Regions from separate parts of the Homo sapiens genome. Here region 2 is linked to region 1. The links are contacts of gene promoters, found by promoter capture Hi-C in human tissues and cell types (Jung and others, 2019). All regions are on one chromosome and are shown on one strand. The core of a region is centred on a gene start or on the middle of the fragment in contact, and the rest is flanking DNA. Distances in the headings are between cores, read along the strand shown.

The links. The method cuts DNA at HindIII sites, captures the fragments that hold promoters and counts their contacts. A contact is called where the count stands out against the background at its distance.
Region 2: a contact is called between a fragment that was not itself captured here and the fragment with the promoter of SYDE2 in region 1, in 1 of the 25 tissues and cell types used here (neural progenitor cells).

The regions. Positions count from the first base shown.
Region 1 is chr1:85,198,649-85,204,653 of GRCh38, reverse strand. It overlaps SYDE2 (synapse defective Rho GTPase homolog 2), which reads left to right and starts at 3,638. Exons shown (of 7, transcript NM_032184.2): 1 at 3,638-4,402. The coding sequence starts at 3,658. LOC124904207 (a long non-coding RNA gene) reads left to right here and starts at 4,412. Exons shown (of 2, transcript XR_007066199.1): 1 at 4,412-4,503; 2 at 4,615-6,005. RefSeq lists a silencer at 2,750-3,899 and an enhancer at 3,912-4,523. The HindIII fragment of the contact is 20,475 bases long and covers 1-6,005 here.
Region 2 is chr1:84,954,877-84,960,881 of GRCh38, reverse strand. MCOLN2 (mucolipin TRP cation channel 2) reads left to right here. Exons shown (of 14, transcript NM_153259.4): 3 at 2,180-2,353; 4 at 4,298-4,451. Among named protein-coding and RNA genes, the nearest start is that of MCOLN2, 39 kb to the left of the region's middle. The HindIII fragment of the contact is 6,848 bases long and covers 1-6,005 here.

The DNA of each region.
Region 1 (6,005 bases), core at 2,389-4,888:
TTAGAAAGATATGAAAATTGAGATAAGTGAGGGAATAGGATACAAATTGTAAAAAAAGATTTTACAAAGTATAGTTTATGTTCATATCTTGTCATTATCTTAATTATATTAGGCATAATATAAGTTTTGTGGGCATTGTCTCTTTAGAATTACATTTTTACCAACTTTTTATTGATGTGTAATGCACATACAGAAAAGTGGAATTTACATTATTAAGGTCTTTAAATAGTGTCATATGGCCATGACTGCCTTATTAATTTCTGTTGTGACACAAAATGATTAAAATTGTGAATTCATGAGTTAGAACATTCTCAACTTTAAAGAAGCATTAAGTTCAGTCGTGGTATGCTGCATCAAACTTAGTTCTGAGTAACGCCTAGAACAATGCATAGTATTTTATATTGGCCAATAACCAATGTTTTATAACTCCTGAACAAGTGGATAAACTGAATTCGGGATGAAGTTCAATCCAGATCTTCAAGGTTATATTTTTCTACTCATATATATCTATCTGCATATAGATATATATGCAGCTTATAGTGTTCTTAACAGCTATGTTAACTACAAAGCATAAAAAGATTTTGCAACAGAGTTGGAATGGAAACAATTTCTGAGATAGAGATCAAATTGTGTTTATAGAACCATTATTGGCAACTTTGCTATCAGTCATTTCCTGTGGGAATATTTCACTGGGACATAGTTTTATGCCTTGACTATTCATTAAATAGCCTGGGGCCCATGGAATGAAAATATTGTAGAACTACAAATATCAATATATGCAAATTATAGTGTAATATTTCATCACATTTCATTGCATTTTCTTAGATACGAATTAAGATTATTTAACAAACTGTGTCTCTTACTCATCGCAGAAAGAATTTTAAAACAACACTAATATAGCATGGTCTAGTGGAGAGTTAGGCAATAGACTGGAATTAAAGCCACTTGTTCTCTCTAAATTAAAATTGATATTAATTCAAAAATGTTTATTCATCATGCACAATATATAAGATGCTAAAGTTATACTCCTGTGGAGAATATAAAGGTCAATTATAAACAGTTTCTGCCCTTAGGGAGTTTATGAATTTTCTTGTAAAGGAGAAAGGACATGTATACAAACTGTATAAAACAAAAAACAGTAACTATACTATGGGTGGGAATAAAGTAATATTGAAGTTTAGAACTTGAGTTCCCGTCTGGGAGATCAGAGATGACTTCATAAACAAGAAGGCAGTTGAGCTGAGTTTTATTATTTTATTCTTATTATTTTGAGACAGAATCTCCCTCAGTCATCCAGGTTGGAATGAAGTGTCATGATCTCGGTTCATTGCAGCTTCAGCCTCACAGGCTCAAGTGATCCTCCCACCGCGGCCTCTAGAGTAGCTAGGACTACAGGTGCACACCACCACATCTAGCCAATTTTTTTTGTGTTTTTTTTTTTGTTTGTTTTTGTTCCTCGTAGAGACCAGGTTGTGCCATGTTGTCCAGGCTGGTCTTGAACTCCTGGGCTCAAGCAATCTGCCCATCTCAGCCTCTCAAAGTGCTAAGATTACAGGCATGAGCCACCCCGCCTGGCCTAGAGCAGAGTTTTAGAGAGTGGGTAAGATTTCTGCAAATATTCTCTCTTATCTGCAAATCTCAGATGCAGGTAACAATTATTCCAGAAAGCAGAGACTAGGTACTAATAAAGGTAGTATAGTCAAAGCACATTCAGAGATTGGAGCCACTGGACAACAAGAAAACAACTGACATAGGAAAATATACTGCAGTTGCAAATAAGGTAAATTAGGGCAAAATTATTTCATTTTATTCAGTAATGCAAACATTTATTTATTCAACAAATATTTTCTTAAGTATTTGAGTATCTACTAAGTGCACGCACTGTGCTAGGTGTCAGCATATTTATGAGTAACTCAGAAAAAGGCCCTTTCTACTATGTAAACACTAAAAAAAGTAACTCAAATCAGGGATGATAGCACGACTGATTCTTATCAGTCACTGAATCAATTAATCTCTGGCAACGAGGGGTACTTGAGTTTGCAACTGCTGCCCAGAACCTGGAATTTAACGTTTTTGGGAGACAGCCGGTATTTCTAGATTACACTGTGTCTCAACTTCAATTCAATTGCTTCTCAACTCACTATTTAAATTAAAATGAAGTGTTAACTTTTTTATATTAGAAAGCTGCAAACCTGTATGATAATCTTGTAGGTAGGGTGATGAGGGACATAATATTTGTGGCTCCATTTTACAAGTTTTGGCTGATGTAATAATTTTGTTAGCATGCATTAACTGAAATAAAGAAGGAAAAACAGACTTAAAAGAGACATCGGTGGGTGGGTTTTGTTTTGTTTTTGATAAAAGAACTCTTATAGAAAAGGAATCGCTGCAAATTTCTTTTAGCTAGCTAGCTCTCTGGGCGATTAAAATGATTGATACATTTCTAGAACACATGCACCGAGATACACCTGCACTCGTACTTTGTCCGTCAAAACAATCTTTGTTTTCTCTCAAGCTAGGACTTGCTGTGCCTAAGACACACCTCGTGCAGCGGTGGCGGTGAAGGTGCTGGGGTGACAGCCAGGAGGGCACTTTCCCTTTCTCGGGCTCCCTAACCAAAACTTTGCAGCCACCAGCCCAAACTCACGTTCCTGCTCGTTCTTCTTTCCCCTGCCTCAACTCTCCCCGCACCCTTCGCGCTCTGTGCGCCCACCCCTGCTTCCGTCGGTCAGCTTCAGCCGACCTACTACTCAACCTACCGGCCCGCGCCCTCCGCCTCCACCTGCACCACTCGCCCACCCCGAGAACCCACCTCTGCCGCCCCCGGCCCGCGCGCCCCGTCGCGGCCCGGGGCTCCGGGGCATGCGCGTTGCGGCGCCACCGCCCTCCCCCACGCCTTCCCGCGGCAGAGTTATGCCAAGTATGTGAGGAGCCGGCGAGGGCCAGCGCCGGTCATGGGGAGCCGCCGCCGCCTCCGCCTCCGCCTCCGCGAGCGCGGTTTTCTCCCCAGCGGGGCTCCGACCTCTCCCCCTGGCGGGGGTGAGCCTCGCGGCTAAGGCAGAGGGGATGGCGGACCCTCTGAGGAGGACGCTGTCCAGGCTCCGGGGAAGGCGGGGTCCCCGCGGCACCGGGGGGCTAGGGCTCCGGGCGGCAGCCGCAGCTGCGGTGGCGGCCTCTTCGGCAGCCGCGGGAGACGCCTGGGGTGCCGCAGACACCCTCCCACGTGAGCACGCCGGGGGACACGGGCGGAGCCTACAGCAGCCCTCGCCGTCACCTGAGGCGTGGGGTCCCGGGGCGCGGGTCCCCGGAGGGCACCCGGAGCAGTTGGGGGCGCTCGGGCCTCGGCCGCGCGGCGGGCAGGAGGCCGCCCCCCAGAGCCATGGGCTCGCTCACGCCCCTCCGCACTCCCCGGAGGGCTCCGAGGACAGCGGAGAGGAGGAGGAAGACGACAAGGACGAAGACGACTACGACGCCGACTACTACGAAAACCTGCCCGGCGGCTCGCAGTCTGCGCCCGAGCCTGAGGGGGCGGAGGCGGAACGGCGTCCCCCGCCTCCCCCAGCGGCGGGCTCCTCCCTGGGGGCGGAGGGCGGCCGCCTGGAGACAGGCAGGCTGCGGACCCAGTTGCGAGAGGCCTATTATCTGCTGATCCAGGCCATGCACGACCTGCCCCCTGACTCGGGCGCGCGGCGGGGCGGCAGGGGCTTGGCGGATCACAGCTTCCCCGCGGGAGCCCGGGCTCCGGGCCAGCCGCCTTCCCGCGGCGCCGCGTACCGCCGAGCCTGCCCCCGGGACGGGGAGCGGGGAGGCGGCGGACGCCCTCGGCAGCAGGTGTCCCCGCCCCGGTCGCCTCAGAGGGAGCCGCGGGGAGGCCAGCTGCGGACTCCTCGGATGCGGCCGTCCTGCAGCAGAAGCCTCGAGAGCCTCCGGGTGGGTGCCAAGCCGCCTCCCTTCCAGCGGTGGCCGAGCGACAGCTGGATCAGGTGCGGCGCGCACCGGGACTGGGACGAGCCCCCGCCACGTGGAGGCAGGATGGACGGCTGGAGTGGGGACCGCGCCCGGGCGGCTGCACCCACCGGCCTCCAGCCTCCAGGCTGCAAGGACCACGGCTGCTCCTCGGGAAGCCCTTTCAGGGATCCAGCGGGGTCCTCTGTGATACGCAGTGGCAAAGGAGACCGCCAGGAAGGCCCCTCCTTCCTCAGGCCGCCGGCAGTGACAGTCAAGAAGCTGCAGAAGTGGATGTACAAAGGGCGTCTGCTGTCCCTGGGAATGAAGGGTCGTGCCCGTGGGACGGCTCCCAAAGTCACAGGAACGCAGGCAGCCTCCCCAAATGTGGGCGCTTTGAAAGTGCGTGAAAACCGTGTCCTGTCGGTGCCTCCAGACCAAAGAATTACGCTGACAGGTAGGATACTTTGCGATGAAAATGCTAGCACCGCGAGCCTTACTGTTTACCGACTGGGCTTCTGTCTTAAGAGCCAAGAAAAAGTTATGTTTTTGCGACAGGTACGTTACCGGGCGAAAGTAAGTGTCATGTAAGTGGCAGCTTAAAGTAATTTCGGGGTTACTTAATGTAATGCATTTACTCGTTTTGCTTTTTTTTTTCTTTTTAATCAGACAATGGCATGAAGAATTGAGGTTGTGATTTCTTCTCGAAAAACCAGTGTGTCTATTCCCTAAGTATTACCTAAAGGAGTAAAGGTTAAGTATAACACACTTTTAGTAGGTTTACAGATGGGCGGCACTGTCTTGATTTTTATTCTTTGTAGCTCTAGGCAAATCCGTAGACTTTTGTGGAGTTTGTAAATTTGAATTTGATTCAAGGTAGATTTTATAGGCTTCATAAACTGTCATTTTACTCATTACAACTTTTTTTTTTTGCCTCTCCCAGGCACGCACACACATGCATACATACACACAACCAAAAACCCAAACAAATCAAACAAAAAAAACCCTACCATAAGTAGAATTTTTTAGTCAGGTAGTATTTCACATACACCATCTCTCCACCTGCCTCCCCCCGACAAAGAAACCTCAACAAAGTAATCTTTTTATTGTGAAAAATCAAGGACACTAACATTTTAATCAAAAGAAAAATGTTCCTCAGGTAGTTTTGTTTTTAAAGCAGTCATTTGCAAACTTAAATCCTATTTATAAGAGAAGTAAATTAGTTTTTTAAAAAGTATATTGATCCTTATAATAGGATTAAGCTCCCTATTTTGTATGTGCATGATTTTTAACTATCACTGAAGGTTTAGGTTATCAATTCTAGAAACCAGTCAATTATGTTGTAAATATCAAAATATCTTTCCTGAAAGGAGTATAATATCTTCAAAGTGAGCCAAAACAACATGGTCTTTTGAATACTCTTACATATAAAAATTTTTAGTGATCATAAAGACTTATAAGTCAGGAATAATTTGGAAAACATTAAATCCTGAAATGTAAAAGGTATTCACAGTACTTGGCGGTTTCTCTGGTAGTAATTATAAATCCTACAGGACTGGATTTATACACATTAACTTTGTTTAACCAATAAACACACAACAGTGGGGAGAAACAAAGTTCACAAAACTTCTTATCAAACAATGAAGACAAATCAAATGATTCATTCAAAGTGTGTGCCAACTTGCAAAGTTTTTTCCTGTCTATACGGCTCTAATACACACCTGTCAAATTTTATTCTCAAGGTTAAATATTCCATTTCACTTGAACAAAAGGATAATAGAATGTAAATTCTTTGTTGAGAGGTGTACTTTATACTAAGTTCATATTAAACATGCATTTCCAGGAGTAATTTGTAATCATTTATTATATTTTATTGCCACAATATTTTTACCTCCCCCCCTTTGGCTTAGTTTTAACTCTTGGTACCATAGTTGAATTTCAGCCATAACAAAAAATAGTCAAATATTTTTCACCCTTTTGTCACAGAGCTAAAACACTTACCATGTGATGGCTTTTAATGCCCTCAGTAGTAAACATTCAAGGATTTTTAAAGTAATAAA
Region 2 (6,005 bases), core at 1,496-3,995, 240 kb after region 1:
ACGTTGTATACCAGCTTGGCTTAGAGTAAGCACTCAGCAAACTTTGATTGAAGAACTTCATTCATGTGTGGTGTGTGTACCAGTTTTTTCATATGTGTCAGTAGTTTTAATAAAACTTTGAAGCAATCATGTATGTGTTGCTTCCCTGGTTTACATTTTAGCTTTCAAGAGCAACATGACCTTTTCTGGCTTCTCCTACAGGCACCATTGACAGACATCACATGCTTAGAAGAACTTATAACCTTCTGTTGCTTAATTTTCAGCACAAGCTGGATGATGTGGGACTTCTTATCTGATGTTTTCCTTAGAATAGCTGAGTTTTAGCAGTTGCACAATCCTTTGACATGGCATTTGAGGAATGTGACATGGTGAGACTCAAATGCTGAACAGTAGCATCTGTGTACCTTCTCAAGCGATAGTTGCCTTTCCTAATTTTGAAAAGCTAGCACTTAAGTTCATTATAAGAAGCATCCTAAAGAACTTTTTCAGCAGAAGGAAGTTGTTTTTATAGCATAACACAGATGACTTTGGAATTAGACTTGGCTTCCATTCTGGTGACTTGGGCAATTTAATGAGGCTAAATCTCAGGTTGCACGTATGTAAAATGGAATAACAGTAGTAACATTTTCATAGTCCGCTTGGGGTAAATGAGGCACTGCATGTAAAGCAGTTAGCACAGTACCTGGCATATAATAATTGCTGAAAATGGTGATTATTTTTCCTAATTCTTTAGTATTTTTTAAAACAACAAAATATAAAAGCTAAAAAATGTAAACCATGAAAAAACCGTATGCCTGTATGTTGTTTGCATATGCAAATTAATATTAGCTATTTTACTTTATTTTTTTAGAGACAGGTTTTGCTATATTGCCAAGGCTAGCCTTGAACTCCTGGGCTTAAGTGATCCTCCCACCTCGGCCTCCCAAGCAGCTGGGACTACAGCCACAGGCCACCTCACCCAGCTAAATTAACATTAGTTTTATCTGAATTGTTCAGAATTGTATCTTGTATATTATTGTTCAGATGTATCATATTGAACCATGGAATGACAACAAATAACAGAACTGTCAGGGTCATCTAGTTACACTTGCTAATTTTACATAGGAAGAAAACAGTCCCAAAATTTGGTGGCTTAGTTGAGTGAGGACTTGGAGCAAACTTTCTAGTCTCATTGTTTTATAAGGCAGCTGAAGAAATCACTTAGGGAGGTGGGGAAAGGTGTGTGGGACAGGGCTTATAGAGATTTGACTACCGTCACTGCCTGTGTATGTATGTGAGAGAGACAGAGAGGACGCACGTGAGAGAGTGTGAATGTGCGTGTGAGAGTGCGTGTGTGATGAGGTATGTGTGTAGCTGTGTGTGTAGTTTCCTAGGTTTTGTGTAAACTTTTGGTGCTGACTAATTTCCTCCATTTATTGGGTTCCAAGAAGAAAACTTTCACTTCTGGTGAAGAGAGCCCTTGGGTGCCTAAATTCTGCCAGAATACAGTGAAAGGGAGAATAAGTGGGCATTTTTTCAGTAGGTGGATGCTTGGTGACAATGAATGGGTTTGACATCATACAAGTAAAGCATGCTCTGTTATTCTTTCATGTGCTTTGATACTGTAGAATTTGGTGAGGGAAACTCTCAGGTGTAAATTTTATACAGAATTCTTGCAGAGCTGAATTAATTGAATTCTTTTGACAACTATTACCTCCTAGCTGGAGTAAGTTTTTATGTAGGCTACTTTTCAAAAAACACTTTTAAAAGCCATATGTAAAACATAGTTGTGATTTTAAAAAATACTACAATTTCTAAATCTTAAATCAATACAATGAGTTACTGCTTTACTAAGTAATTGATTTTGAAAACAATTAACTTGAAATCCAAATATAAGAAAAATGGATTGAGACTTAGCTGATTTGGATTCTTTCTTTCTTTCTTAAAGGCCAGTAGAGTCAGTAGTCATTGGGAGCAGTAATCTCTTCTAATTTTATGCTACTTTGAATTGCTGATGTAGCTTGATGAGGTTATTCTTCTGTGGGACTTGTATTTTGACATTGATGCTATTAGTATAAACCAAAAAAAATTGATATTATTTTCTGATGTTTATAGGTAATGGTTGATGATAGTGAGAAGACATTTGCCTCCCCTGATAAATGGTGTAATTCATGTGTTTCTATTTTATTTTATTTTTTAGCTTGTTCGTTTTGGTTTAAGTAACCAGCTGGTGGTTGCTTTCAAAGAAGATAACACTGTTGCTTTTAAGCACTTGTTTTTGAAAGGATATTCTGGTACAGATGAAGATGACTACAGCTGCAGTGTATATACTCAAGAGGATGCCTATGAGAGCATCTTTTTTGCTATTAATCAGGCAAGTGTTTTGTTGTGAATGACCTATACTTTAACAATGTATTGATACTTGGCCTTGTCTTAGCCAACAAACAAAAATTATACACATGTTAAAATATTCTAATGTAAGTTTTGCAGTCTGCCAAAAAATGTTTATTGCTATTTCTGAAGCTACATTTCTACACAAAAGAGTTTGCCTATTTTGACTTTTTAAAAAATATTTATCTTTTTAATTTATCACTTCATACCTACTGCTTTTGGAAAATTACCCCAGATCAAATAGCAAGAGTAGATTTTTAATCTCAGAAGGCTTGATGAAAGCTTAATATAAAATCAAAGATTCCAGCCTGGCGTAGTGACTCATGCCTGTAATCCAGGCACTCTGGGAGGCTAAAGTGGGTTGATCCTTTGAGTCCAGTCTGGGCAGCATTGTGAAACCCCATCTCTACAAAATAAATAAGTAAATAAATAAAAAAATCAGGGATTCTGTGGCCTTAATTGTGATGTTTTAGCATTAATAACCCTAGCTGAATCTTAAGAATATGGAATATAAAATAGTTGTATCTAGACAGGTATGAGAAAGCAGATTAGTAGACTTGAAGAAATAATTTAGGAAAGAGAAACTGTTCCTGCTCTTTTTCATTCACTCAATAAATATTGAAGTATCTAATATGTAGCAGGTGTTATTCCAGTCATTGAGGATGCATCAGTGAATAAAACAGACAAAGCGCCTTCCTTTATAGAGCTTAATTCTGGAACGAAGAGCTAGACAAAAAGAAGTGAAATGTGTAATATCAAATGCTAGCTCCCTGAGAATACCACACAAAAAACATGTTGATGAGCAAAGCTGAGCTTATTACTTAGAGTGGTAAGGGAGATGCTATATTGATCAGAGGCCATCTTGCCTTGGGTGAGGAGGGAGTTCTTTAATGTGAGGGGAGCTTGATTAGAATTAGGTAAGGATGATGATATAATAATTTAGGACTGATGGACATGGCAAGGTGAGGATTGGGAAGGCAGTTTCAAAGAATCTTGGAGTTGTTTTCAGACAAAATCTTCCAATTGTTATCTATTTCAATGAATTTTTTGGATGTTCCTGAAATAATAGAGGGAATTTTATGGTCCAGGGCAAAAATTTTCAGGAATAGTAAAGTCGTATTAATGAAGACAGAGCTAGTAAAGCCCTATTAGTGCAGATAGCCAACAGTAAAGCCATGTTAATGTAAGCTGAGGTAAGCTAATGTTGGTTCATGTTAGTCATTGATGTAAGCTGTGGAGTGTGGATGGCTCATGTCCTCAGTAGATATTAGAAAGTAATAACTGCTAAGGAGTAAAGCAGGGAAGGAGATGGGAAGTACCTGGGTGCAGTGATGGATGTTTGTGATTTTCTTTCTTTCTTTCTTTTTTACTGCATTTATTTTATTTTTATTTGACAGGGCATAATTGCACACAGTATATAGTTATGGGGTACAATGTGATGTTTTGATATATGTTTGCAATTTTCCTTGGCTTGGGGAGGGAAGGCCTCATTGAGGTGCGGAATTGAGAGCTGAAGGAGTGAGTAAACCGAGCGGGTATGTACGTGGGTCTCCAGGCAGAGGGAACAGCAAAGGCCAGAGGCAAAAATATGCGTGTGAGCTCCAGGAACTGCCTGGAGGGCAGTGCAGCTTTGCAGGTTGGAGCCAAGGGACTGGAGTAGATGAGGTCCTAGAGATAAGGCAGGACCTTGGCTTTGGCTGAGTGAGGTGGGAGCTGTCCATCACCTTGTTTTGTTTCGAGTTCTGTGAGGCAGTGTCTTGCTGAACAAACTGAGAAGATTTCTTTGTAGTATTTTAAATTGGGAAGTTCTATTGAGAGCCATGATGTAAACAATACAAAGTAACTGAAAGTACATTCTATATGCTATAACCTCTGATCAAAGTTATAAAAGGTCATATGTGGTTTTTACTTGACTATTTTTTAATAGTATCATCAGCTAAAGGACATTACCCTGGGGACCCTTGGTTATGGAGAAAATGAAGACAATAGAATTGGCTTAAAAGTCTGTAAGCAGCATTACAAGAAAGGGACCATGTTTCCTTCTAATGAGACACTGAATATTGACAACGACGTTGAGCTCGGTAATGCAGTGATAATTTCATGATGTACCTTTATCGTCTTCTGGTAAGAGCAGAAATGCCCTCATGTGCTAGCAACCCAGATGGAAAAACTTTGCTTTGGTGAGAGCTAACCTGTTAGGGGCTGACACTCCAACACTGGCCTGCAGAGGGGCTTTGGCTCAGGAAACTGTGGGGTTGTGGCGATGGGACAGGGACAGCATTTGTGGATCTGTTTGGAGCAACTCAAGATTGTTGGTTTGGGGGTATATTCACAGGTCCTGTTTTTTGTTTTTTTTTCCCTATGAAGGGGTGATTAGGCTTTCTGAAAAAACGGTCTGTATGTGTTAAATGAAATAATATACATAAAGATGTTTTGTACACTTGTTTTTATTATTTGTAAAATATAGAAATGCTCTTCAAAGGTGAATTGTGATTAACAACTCACTTTCTCTCTTAGGAGATCCCTTGGCAACAAGTTAATGGCTAATCAAGTCGAATTGTTTTGTGCTATTTTGTTAAGAATTTAAGAGCATACTGTATGTAAATACGAGGTGTTTGGCTTAAGACTTTTTGTTTTTTAAAATAATGTTTCATTATTTTATTGTTTTGTTGTTCACTCAACAAACCTCTGGTGTGTAGTCATCATGTTTTCATATCATACTGTAATAATCCCAGTTATTCAAGCCCCGTACTTGAAGTTGCCAATTTCCCCATTTTCACTGCCACCACTGTCATCCAAGCCACTACTTGTGGTCTCCCTGCTTCTGGTCTTGCCTCTACGAGCCCCTGCCCTGCCCTGCAGAAACCGCAGTGGTAAATCAGGTCATATCTCTTCCAGGCTTAAAAATCATTAGTGGCTTCCCATCCCATTTAGAATAAAATCCACAAGTCCTTATAGAAACTAGCCCCCTGCCTGCCTCTCCAGACCCCTGTCCTCATTTCTCTGTTGTAACATCCTTTCTGTTTGCTGAGCAAGCCAGGCTCTTTCTTGCTTGGAGGTCTTAGTGCTTGATTTTTTTCCTGTTTGGATCTATGCATAGCTGGTTCTTTTTCCTTTCAGGAAAAAGGTTTCAGTTCAAACATGTTTCGCACCGTGAAAGCCATTCCCTAACTATCTTTCCTAAGGTGGACTCCCCCTCTGTATTAGTCTGTTCTCATGCTGCTAATAAAGACATACGCAATAATTTATAAAGGAAAGAGGTTTAATTGACTTACAGTTCTGCAGGGCTGTGGAGGCCTCAGGAAACTTACAATCATGGTGGAAGGGGAAGCAAACACATCCTTCTTTACATGGTGGCAGGAAGGAGAAGTGCAGAGCAAAGTGAGAAAAGCCTCCTATAAAACCATCAGATCTCATGAGAACTCACCCATTATCACAAGAACAGCAGCATGGGGGTAACTGCCCCCATGATTTAATTACCTCCTACTGGGTCCCTCTCACAACATGTGGGGATTATGGAAACTACAATTCAAGATGAGATTTGGTTGGGGACACAGACAAACCATATCACCCTCTTAGTTATTCTTGTTCACTTTATCTTCATAGTACTTCTCACACTGTGAAATTACCTTGTA